3 separate regions of the Homo sapiens genome follow, and all the other regions are linked to region 3. The links are contacts of gene promoters, found by promoter capture Hi-C in blood cells and fetal thymus (Javierre and others, 2016). All regions are on one chromosome and are shown on one strand. The core of a region is centred on a gene start or on the middle of the fragment in contact, and the rest is flanking DNA. Distances in the headings are between cores, read along the strand shown. Region 1 overlaps ATG13 (autophagy related 13). Region 2 holds the start of MAPK8IP1 (mitogen-activated protein kinase 8 interacting protein 1). Region 3 holds the start of CHRM4 (cholinergic receptor muscarinic 4).

Region 1 (3,351 bases), core at 479-2,978, 260 kb after region 3:
AGACCTAGGATTCAGATTTATCCTTATTTCATTCCTAACATCTAACCATGAAGCTTCTTTTTTTTTTTTTTGTTTTTTGAGACGGAGTCTCGCTGTGTTGCCCAGGCTGGAGTACAATGGCACAATCTCGGCTCACTGCAAGCTCCGCCTCCCAGGTTCACGCCATTCTCCTGCCTCAGCCTCCCGAGTAGCTGGGACTACAGGCACCCGCCACCACGCCCGGCTAATTTTTTGTATTTTTAGTAGAGACGGGGTTTCACCATGTTAGCCAGGATGGTCTCGATCTCCTGACCTCATGATCCACCCGCCTCAGACTCCCAAAGTGCTGGGATTACAGGCGTGAGCCACCGCGCCTGGCGAAGCTTCTTCATACATTGTTGGAGCTTAGTATTTATTGAATAAACCCATGTGTATATTTAATTTTAACAATATTACTTGAAAAATATGAAAATAGATTTTAGGTATTTTGAATTCAAACTTTTTGCTAATATAGACTGGCCTGTCCAGGGAGAATCATAGGAAGGTTCCACTGTGTTTATGTTTTTATTTTTTTTTTTCAGAATAGTCTTACCTAGTTCATTATTCCACGGTGGAAAAGATTTCCTGCTTTGTTAAGCCATCTACTTAGAGATTTCTTCATGGCCAGGCACAGTTGGCTCACACCTGTAATCCCAGCACTTTGGGAGGCTGAGGTGGGAGGATTGCTTGAGCCCCGGAGTTTCAGACCAGCCTGGGTCACATGGCAAGACCTCATCACTACTATTTTTAAAATTTTATATATATATATATATATATATATATGTAAAAGAGAGCTTCCCACAACTAAAGACCACTTATCAAACTCTAGTACATTCTGGTCAGGTATGGTGGCTCATGCCTGTGATCCCAGCACTTTGGGAGACTGAAGTGGGAGAATAATTTGAGGCCAGGACCAGGGGCAGTGGCTCACACCTGTAATCCCAGCACTTTGGGAGAATGAGGTGGGAGGATCGCTTGAGTTCAGGAGTTCGATACCAGCCTGGGCAACACACCGAGACCCTGTCTATACTAGAAATAAAAAAACTTAGCTGGGTGTGGTGGCACGTGCCTGTAGTCCCAGCTGCTTAGGAGACTGAGGTGAGAGGATCTCTTGAGCCCAGGAGGTTGAGGCTGCAGTGGGCAGTGGTCATACCACTGCACTCCAGCATGGGCAACACACTGAGACCCTGTCTCAAAAAAAACAGTTGAGGCCAGGAGTTTGCAACCAGCCTGGGCAATAGTTAGACCCTGTCTCTACCAAAAATTATTTTTAAAAAACCCGAAAAACAGGCCAGGCATGGTGGCTTGCACCTGTAATCCCAGCACTTTGGGAGGCTACGGCGGGTGTATCACTTGAGCTCAGGAGTTCAAGACCAGCCTGGGCAATGTGGCGAAACCCTGTCTCTACCAAAAATACAAAAATTAGCCAGGCATGGTAGCGCATACCTGTAGTGCCAGCCATTTGGGAGGCTGAGGCACAAGAATCGCTTGAGTCCAGGAGGTGGAGGTTGCAGTGAGCCAAGATGGTGCCATTGCACTCCAGCCTGAGCGACAGAGCGAGACACTGTCTCAAAAAAAACCAAAAAACAGGTCCGGGCGCAGTGGCTCACGCCTGTAATCCCAGCACTTTGGGAGGCTGAGACGGGCGGATCACGAGATCAGGAGATCGAAACCATCCTGGCTAACACGGCGAAAACCCGTCTCTACTAAAAATACAAAAAATTAGCCGGGCGCGGTGGCGGACACCTGTAGTCCAGCTGCTCGGGAGGCTGAGGCAGGAGAATGGCATGAACCTGGGAGGCGGAGCTTGCAGTGAGCCGAGATTGCACCACTGCACTCCAGCCAGGGCGACAGAGTGAGACTCAGTCTCAAAAAGCAAAACAAACAAACAAAAAAACAGCCGGGCGTGGTGGCATGCGTCTGTAATCCCAGCTACTTGGGAGGCTGAGGTAGGAGAATCGCTTGAACCCAGGAGGCTGGAGGTTGCAGTGAGCCGAGATCATGCCACTGCACTGCAGCCTGGGTGACAGAGCAAGACTCCGTCTCAAACAAAACAAAACAAAACAAAACCAGTGCCTTCTAGTAGCAATCCTAGACCTGTTGGCCACTTTTATTTATATATTCTTTATTTCTCAGTAGGTATAATTTTAAAATACATTTTAGTAGCAGAGAGAAGAAACTTAAATAGCAGTTTCCACTTAATTATTATTTTCCTCATTTCTTTTTTTGAGACAGCGTCTCATCCTTTTGCCCAGGCTGGAATGCAATGGTGCAATCTTGGCTCACTGCAGCGTCAACTTCCTGGGCTTAAGTGATCCTCCCACCTCAGCCTCCCAGTTATCTGGTACTCCAGGCATGCACCATCACACCCGGCAAAATTATTTTTTGTCAATGCAGGGTCTTGCTGTGTTGCCCAGACTGGTCTTGAACTCCTGGCCTCAAGTGATCCTCCCGAAGTGCTGGGATCACAGGCATGAGCCACTGTGCCTGGCCTTATTTTCCTTATTTTTTAACCAACCCACTCTGTACGTCTCCATGCCTGTAGCTTAATTGAAGTAGTAGGAATTACTAATGCTCCATCAGCAGAGGTATTTGAGCAGATGAGTAAGGAAGGCTTTGTTTTATTTTGTTTCTACGTGTTTTGGCTATAGAGGCCCTTAGGAGTAAAGAATCAGGTAACATTTCTTATTTTTTCTTCCATACAGGATATATTTTGGAGAAGTTCAGCTGAGTGGCTTAGGAGAAGGTATGTATCAACGGTTGAAAAACATCGTAGTGTTCAGAGCTCTCCTAACTTCAGAGATGATCTTCGTTTCTACTTGTTATAATATGTAGATTGTCATCTTAATATGCATAATACAAGTAAAGAAAAGATGAGAATGCAGGTAGGTGGTCCAGGTTACCCCTGATCTGCCAGGGTAACCAAATAATTTTTCCCAAAGTTCCAGGAACTCAGTCTTCTTTCTTACTCTTTATAAAACTGTATATTTTCCTAATTTTCTACAGTGAGGATGTTAAATGTTTCTGATGAACAACAAGAATTTTGAAAAATTGGAAATGAAACCAAGAAAATCAGGAAAGCTTTGTTGAAAGTGTCACTTGCAAGGCCTTGGCTCTTTACTTAGCCGTGGAGTGGCAGCTTGGGTGGAAGGCAATTACTTCTTAAACTGAAGTGTTTGTGTGACATTCTAGTGCTCCTTCATTGTCTTTTTTAGCATGTGATGTATCCTTTGCAGGGCTGGTTAGTAGAACTTTCTCAGGCCTTAAAACTAACAGTTATTTTATCTCTTTGAAGGTAGCTTTATCTATAAATAGAGTGCTGTTTCCCTTGCC
Region 2 (3,167 bases), core at 225-2,724, 510 kb before region 3:
GGCAAGACTGCTTTCCTGAGAGGAAAAGCCAGGCACCATGGCAGCAGATGATTACCGTGAGGGCCCAGTGAAAGGGGCCTGATCACGAAAGCTGAGAAAGTAGTGGCCACCCCTCTGGGCCCCAGGGACAGGGAAAAGAGAAGCAGCCATGACCTTTGGCTCTAGGTATTGGGATATTCTCAGGGCTGGTGGTCGGAGGTTGCCTTCTGCACGGAAGGTGCCTCCAGCTCCTTGCTAGGTGCCGCACTGAAGGAAAGGGGCCAGCATGACTGGTCGGCAGTCCAGATTTGCAAATAGGACTCCACGAGTTGTGGCACAGTTTGCTCTGCACGTTTTCTGCCCTGTGGACAGGGTCTCTAGGGTTCTCTCGAGAGACCAGAGAAGCCAATGAGGTTTGACCAGAGGCTCTACGACCCAGCAAAGCTAAGGCCCTAGCCTTGGCAGTCCGTACTCTGAAATAACTCAATCGGGAAACTCAGGGACTTGAAGGCCTGGAAGCCCAGGAATAACACCCTCTCGAGGGAGAGACAATGAGGAAGAAGCCATGGCCAAAGCCTAGCAGGGATGGAGGTGCCAGAGGGAACAGAAACAACCAAAATGATCCCAAGAAGTCAACAGTGGGAGGAGAGGGAAAGGCGCCAAGTCTTAGAATGTGTGTCTGTGGGTGCAGAAGAGGGGTGCTCTGCAGGAAATGCAGTTGAGGCGCTAAGAAGGAGAATGCTGGGAAGGTCCTGGCGAGAGACCGAGAAGCCTGGAGGGCTCAATTCACCACGAGTAGCTGTTTGGGGCTGAAGAGAGATTTGGGTCAATCTTTAGAGAAGACAGCCTCTAGGGAGAGTCTTTGGGAGGGTCCCCTCAAGGTAAAGGGACAGGACTGGGGTGAGGGCTGGATCCCAGCGCAGGAGGTGGAGTGTTTCTGGGTCTCAGGCAACACATTTGTGTTACGTTACATTCTCACAACAACCATGAGAGGGACTGCTATTGTCCCATTTCACAGATAAGAAGACCAAACCTTAGTGCTCTGAAGTCACTAATGCAAGGCCCCACTGCCCAGTCACTTGTGGAGCCAGTGAATTCACACCACCTGACTCCAAACCTGTACACTTTAAGAGCCCACTGACATCCTCTCCTTTCTCTGCCTTCCTCCACGACCCTCCTTTTCCGCCTGCCTTCTTGGTCTCTGCTGCGGGGGGCCAACCTGGACCTTGGGGTCCAGTGTCCTGCCATTAGTCATCTGATACCCGGGCACTAAGCCCAACCGGAGGGACAAAGCCCACACCGGCCACGGGGTGGAGGAGAGTCGATGTCGGATTTAGGGCGGGGCTGAACCAAGCCCAGGGCCGCGGGGGCCGTGGCTTCAGCACCGCGGAGAGCGCCATCTCCGGGGGCGGGGCTGGCGGGGTGGGGGCGGGGCCTGGGCGGGGCGCGCGAGACCCCGGCCGGGTCCCGGGGGCGCGCGCGGGGCGCTCTCGCCAGTCCCGCGGGCCGTGCGCGGTGCTGTGCCGCGCCCTGCCAGACACAGGTGCGCCCGCCTAGCCCGAACTCCGCGGCGGCGGCTGCCCTCTCGCCGCGCCTCCGCCTCCTTCGCAGCCGCCGCCTCCTCCGCGCCGCGCTCCGCCCGGATGGCCAGGGCTGTGCCCGAGAATGGCGGAGCGAGAAAGCGGCGGCCTGGGAGGGGGGGCCGCGTCCCCGCCCGCCGCCTCCCCGTTCCTGGGGCTGCACATCGCTTCGCCTCCCAATTTCAGGTGAGAGTCCCCGGCCGCCGCGCGCCTCGCCCTTCAGCGGGGACTGATCCGCATTGGCTGCCCTGCCCGCCCCCCACCCCAGAACCTCGGGAACCCGGGAACGAAAGGGCTGCGTGGGAGTGGGGTCTCTTCCCGGGACAGAGCCCCCCTCAGAAGCCCCGCCAGCCTCAAGTCCGGACTGGTAGCCGTTGCATGTTCACGAGGCTGTTCCCTCCGCCATTCCTGGTCCTAGGCTGGGAGGTCTGCGCTGGAATTGGAGGAGGGGGCTCGGAGGCCTCCTTCTCCCCAACCTCCGGGCTGCGGCAGGGTCTGGGGTCGGGGTTGCGATCCCGGAGCGGGCAGGCAGGCTGCATCTTAGCCTGTGAATAGAGCTGGGAACAGCCTGGAGGGGCGCGGGTCGCAGTTTCCTGGGGCAACGACATTGTTGGTGCTGGGAGGAGGATGTTTGAGCCCCTCCCCGAGCCCTGCCTGGCCAGATGGGCCTACCTGCCAGGCCTGGCGTGGCCGGGCCCCTCTCTGGATTGGGCAGCACCGACCTAGGCAGGTGTGTCTCTCAGGGCAGGCGCTGAAGGCTCAGCCTCAACCAGGGGAATCCTAGGCCCGGCTGCGGGAAGGGAAGTCGGCTCGGCTCTGGAGTAGCCAGGGCCAGCGAGGGTGTCGAGGGGATCCCTGCTGGGGTAAATACCCAGAACCCTGACCTGAGCTCCTATTCCACCACCCCCACCCCCCAATCTGGTGTTAGGCCCGATGCATTTCAGAGAAGTGAGGGGTGAGTGTTGTGTGGAGGAGGAATAGATGTACCTCCCCCATAATTCTGAACCCTAGTTGGTGGGGAGGAAGAGGCCGAAGTCACTGCTCCCGGCCTAGAGAGGGAGGCTTAGACATACCCCATTGTTTCCCCATCTCGAGAACTGGCGCCTTCCCCTCTCCTGGGGCACCACCCCAGCCAGGCTCCAGCTGGGCTGTGGTGCCAGCCCCTCCTGGGAGCAAGGGGTCACTGGCTCCCAGGTCCTCAGGTGGGCAGAGACCCCTGGGGATCTCTAATAGCATCATCAAACTCAGAAACCTTCCCTGAGGCCCTGAGCTGAGCTGGAAGGACCAGAGGGGGCCAGATGGAGGAGGCCAGGCCTGAAGGCTCCAGGGCTGCAGCTCTCTGATAATGCCTTAGACTGAGGTCTGAGACTCCACCTGGCATGGTGCATGAGGCCTCCATGCAAATACTGCCTCCCCACCTGGAGGCCTCTGCAGTGGAAGCACATGGGGCTTAGAGGGACCTGGGTTCAAATCCTAGCTCCACTACTTTCTAACTGCATGACCCAGGCAGGTTTTTGTCCTCTCTGGGTGCCATCTGTTAAGTGGGCTAATTAATATTGATTCTTGCCTGGAAAGGAGAAAAAGCACATCAGGTCAGTGTTCAACAAG
Region 3 (3,370 bases), core at 151-2,650:
GTCGCCCAACCTGGCCTTGAGGGACACCAGGCACGCTCAGCTCTAATAACTCCCCTAAGAGGCGTTATTGCCAAAAGCCGCCCATTCTCGCGGCGAGAGGGCATCCGCAGTGCACCCACAAGGCGGAGGCCCGGACAGAGCTCGGGTCAGGCGAGTGCAAGACTCTTGTCCTCCTTCTCTCCTCACCCTGCACCCTACCCCAGAGGCACTGTCTAGCCCCTGTGACCAAAGTGGGGACCCAGTTTCTCACGCTAGGGTCGGGCGGGCCTCGAGGGCCGTGTTTTCCTAGGCCATCTGGAGGCTCCTCCATGTCTCCGCCGTGGTCGAAGGAGCCCTGGCTCTCGGGTGCCCCGCCCTCCCTCCAAGCCCCTAGCACGCAGTTCCTGCAGCCTCTGGGCGTGGGCACTGTGTTTCCCGAGTCCTCGACACCCCTCTTCCCCGGGCGAGACCGGAGGGGGTGCTCCGCACGCCCGTGGGGTGGTTTGGGGTGTAGGTCTTCGGTTCTTGGGCATTCACTCCATGGCTCTGGGAAGGCTGTGGCCCCTGGATCTGTCCCTGGGGCGGGAGAGGAGACTCCAGAGTCCAAGGGAGGGAGAGGCGAAGATTTGGCACCGACATTGTGCCCAACACTTCCGTTGCGGGGCCGGAGGAGGGGGCCTGGAGCTGGAGGACCCCGGCTTGGAGGCTGGGCAGCAAAGGGGGGTAGTACCGGAGCGGGGGAGGGGTGTCGGGGAGGGCAGGGGTGTTTTCCGTCGGGGCTCAAGGTCGTAGATGGAGGACTCCAGGGGCCGGAGTGGGCTGGCAGCGCGGGGGCAAAGGGGTGGAGGGAGAGGGAGGGCGGGGAGACGGCGGGAAAAGGGCTCTTTGGGGCTTCAGCGCCCGGCGCCCTGCTGAGCCGCCAGTGGGAGGGCTGGAGTACAGGGTCCCACCCCCGACGGCTGCCCCTGGCTCCGTGGGGTCTGTGGGCGGGCAATCCCCCGCCCCCGACATCCTGGATGCCCACCCCTTCCCACGGGCGCACCCGGGCGCACCTGGAGAAGCCTCCGAGAGCCCCCGGCCTTGCTTCCAGCGGGGTCCCCCAGCCCCGGCCCACTGCCGCTCCCGGCCCGCGCTCGCCCCGGAGGGGGTCTGGCGCCCTGTCCCAGTCGAACCCACCTCTGGGGAGCCTCAGAGCGTCCCGGGGACCTGCTTCCTGCTCTTCCCGGCGAGCCCCCCGCCCCCGCGCCGCCGCGGAGCCACTTACCCGCCGCCTCTGCCCAGCTCCCCTCGCGCCAGACAGACGGCGGGACGGACGCGCGGCCCCGCGGGCCGGCGGGGCGGGCGGCCGGGCCGAGGGCCGGGGGCGGGGACGGGGTGTCGAGGGGCGGCCCCTGCTCCGCCCGCAGCTCCCGGCGCTGTGGCTCCGACTCGCGCTCACGCTCGCACTTTTCCCCGAGCCGCGTGATGTCACGAGGAAGCAGCCAATCGTGGCGGGGCCGCGCCGCCCGCCCCGGGCCGGTCACCCGGCGGCGACGCGCGGGGGTCAACACCCGAGGCGTCGGAGACCCCGGCGGTCCGCGCCCCTCTCGGGGGCTGGCCGGCAGCTCCCTGCTTGGGCACAGAGGGCGCCGCCCACGGCCAGCGACGCAGGGGAGCAGGGGGCGCTGCCCTCCGGGGGGTGGGGGTGTCCGCGTTGTCATGGGGACGCGGCGCCCCCTCGCGGGCTGGGGAAGGAGCTGGCAGCTGGGTCCGGCCGCGCTCCCGCCTCCGCCCTGACCATACTCCCGGGACCCTGAGCTATTTTCGCGCCTCTCCGGGACCTCAGCGCCCTGCGTGGCCCCGCTGGCGGTTTGGCCGCGAGGCGCGGGAGTCTGACCCCAGCGGGAGGCTGCGGGTGGGTGGGGCGGGCTGCGCCGCCAGGGATCCGTCGGGGTCGAGGGCCGGGAGCTCCAGCCGCGCCGCTGCGTGCCGGCCGGGCCGCCCGCGAGGAGGGGCGCCGTCGGGGCCTGGGGAAGCGCAGGAGCGGGTGGACTGGAGAGGTTCGGCCGGGGAGAGAAGAGCCCACCGCGGACCACTCGCCCGCACCCGCTCGGCTGCCTGCTCAGCGTTCCGGGCCGGGGAAGGGGCGCGCCCCTGCTCTCCCAGCCCTGGGATGGGACGCGCCGCCAGTCCAGGCGCAGCCTGGACCGCCAGTTCACCGCCGCCTGTGAGGGACAGTCGGTTGCCCAAGGTCGCCGGGGCCGGAGCCCGGGACAAGATCCCGGAGAGCGGGCAGCCAATCTCAGAGGTCGCTGGGAACCGCACGGGCCGTAGCCTCAGGACTCCGGGCCTCGCCCAGGCTGGGCGGACCTTGGGGCGGCTTCAGCACCTCGGAGAGCTCCCCGCGCCCTGGCCCAGCAGCCTCGCCTGCCTGATTCCGCTCCAGCGCTTGTCTCCCTCCGAGAGCGCCCTTCCGGGGGACCGCCGGGGTCGGACGCTCCCCACTGCGCCCAGGACCGAGGCCTGTAACCCCAAATTCTGATCGCAAACATTTGATTAAGCTTAAGACGTCTGATTTCTTCTCTCGGGGAAACAACTCAAGACCCTCCCCCGAGGGCCGGAGGTGGTGAGGGCGATTGCGGGGGCGGCGGTGGAGGAGAGGCAGGAGCCTCTTGGCAGAGAATGGGAGGGAACTCGAGTAGAAGCCAGCGCTGCGGGGCTCTTGGTGTGGGGTTCTCCGCGCGGAACCCGGAAGTGGAGTTCGGGTCCCCAGAGCTCGCGAGCGCGACGGCTGGGGTTGGTCGGAATTGGGAACTTCAGGGCTGGGGTTGGTTGGCTAGAGTAGGAAGCCATCTTCTGTTGTTACATGAATGATCGGGTCTCCCAAGACCTCATAACTGGGGGTGAAAGAAGCACTACTCTTCTTGCCCCACTTCACAAATAAGGAAAGTTGGTTCATAAGACCCTAAGACGGCACTCCTGCACTTCTTCCACTTTGCCATATCCTTCCCAGGGCACAGAAGAGTGTGATACTCCTAAGAGGAGGTGGGGGTTGTGGAGGAGGAAGGCAGATAGATCCTTAAAACAGTCAGATGAGAAAACAAGCAAGGCCAAGGGCGGGAGGCTGCATACACAAGACACGCCTCCAGCTACTGACCCCAGCTCTTCCAGAAGCTGGCAGGCAAAGTCACTTTAATTTCTCCACAATCCCTGTTATGAAGGGCTTTTGACCTCTCTCAATCTCCCAACCCCAAGAACCCACGGTGGAACCCTGGAGAGCTGAATTGGGAACAAGGGGACTTGGTGGTTTCTCTGCTCTGCTTTTGATGCCACTAGGTCAGCAGACAAGTAACAGAATTTCTCTGAACCTATTTCCTCATCTCCAAAAGGGACTGCCCCTATCTTTGCCCTG

Evidence for each region. The method cuts DNA at HindIII sites, captures the fragments that hold promoters and counts their contacts. A CHiCAGO score of 5 or more calls a contact.
Region 1: a fragment that was not itself captured here is called in contact with the fragment with the promoter of CHRM4 in region 3 in 1 of 17 cell types (endothelial precursors); the score reaches 7.4 in endothelial precursors.
Region 2: a contact is called between the fragment with the promoter of MAPK8IP1 here and the fragment with the promoter of CHRM4 in region 3, in 11 of 17 cell types (non-activated CD4 T cells, total CD8 T cells, naive CD4 T cells and 8 more). The highest score is 12.3, in non-activated CD4 T cells.

The regions. Positions count from the first base shown.
Region 1 is chr11:46,653,510-46,656,860 of GRCh38, forward strand. ATG13 (autophagy related 13) reads left to right here. Exons shown (of 19, transcript NM_001346311.2): 8 at 2,724-2,764. Among named protein-coding and RNA genes, the nearest start is that of ATG13, 38 kb to the left of the region's middle. The HindIII fragment of the contact is 2,737 bases long and covers 361-3,097 here.
Region 2 is chr11:45,884,177-45,887,343 of GRCh38, forward strand. MAPK8IP1 (mitogen-activated protein kinase 8 interacting protein 1) reads left to right here and starts at 1,475. Exons shown (of 12, transcript NM_005456.4): 1 at 1,475-1,745. The coding sequence starts at 1,645. RefSeq lists a silencer at 1,337-1,736. The HindIII fragment of the contact is 6,698 bases long and covers 1-3,167 here.
Region 3 is chr11:46,390,376-46,393,745 of GRCh38, forward strand. It overlaps CHRM4 (cholinergic receptor muscarinic 4), which reads right to left and starts at 1,401. Exons shown (of 2, transcript NM_000741.5): 1 at 1,156-1,401. RefSeq lists enhancers at 1-293, 294-897, 2,415-3,189 and silencers at 1,442-1,531, 1,712-1,761. The HindIII fragment of the contact is 9,198 bases long and covers 1-2,517 here.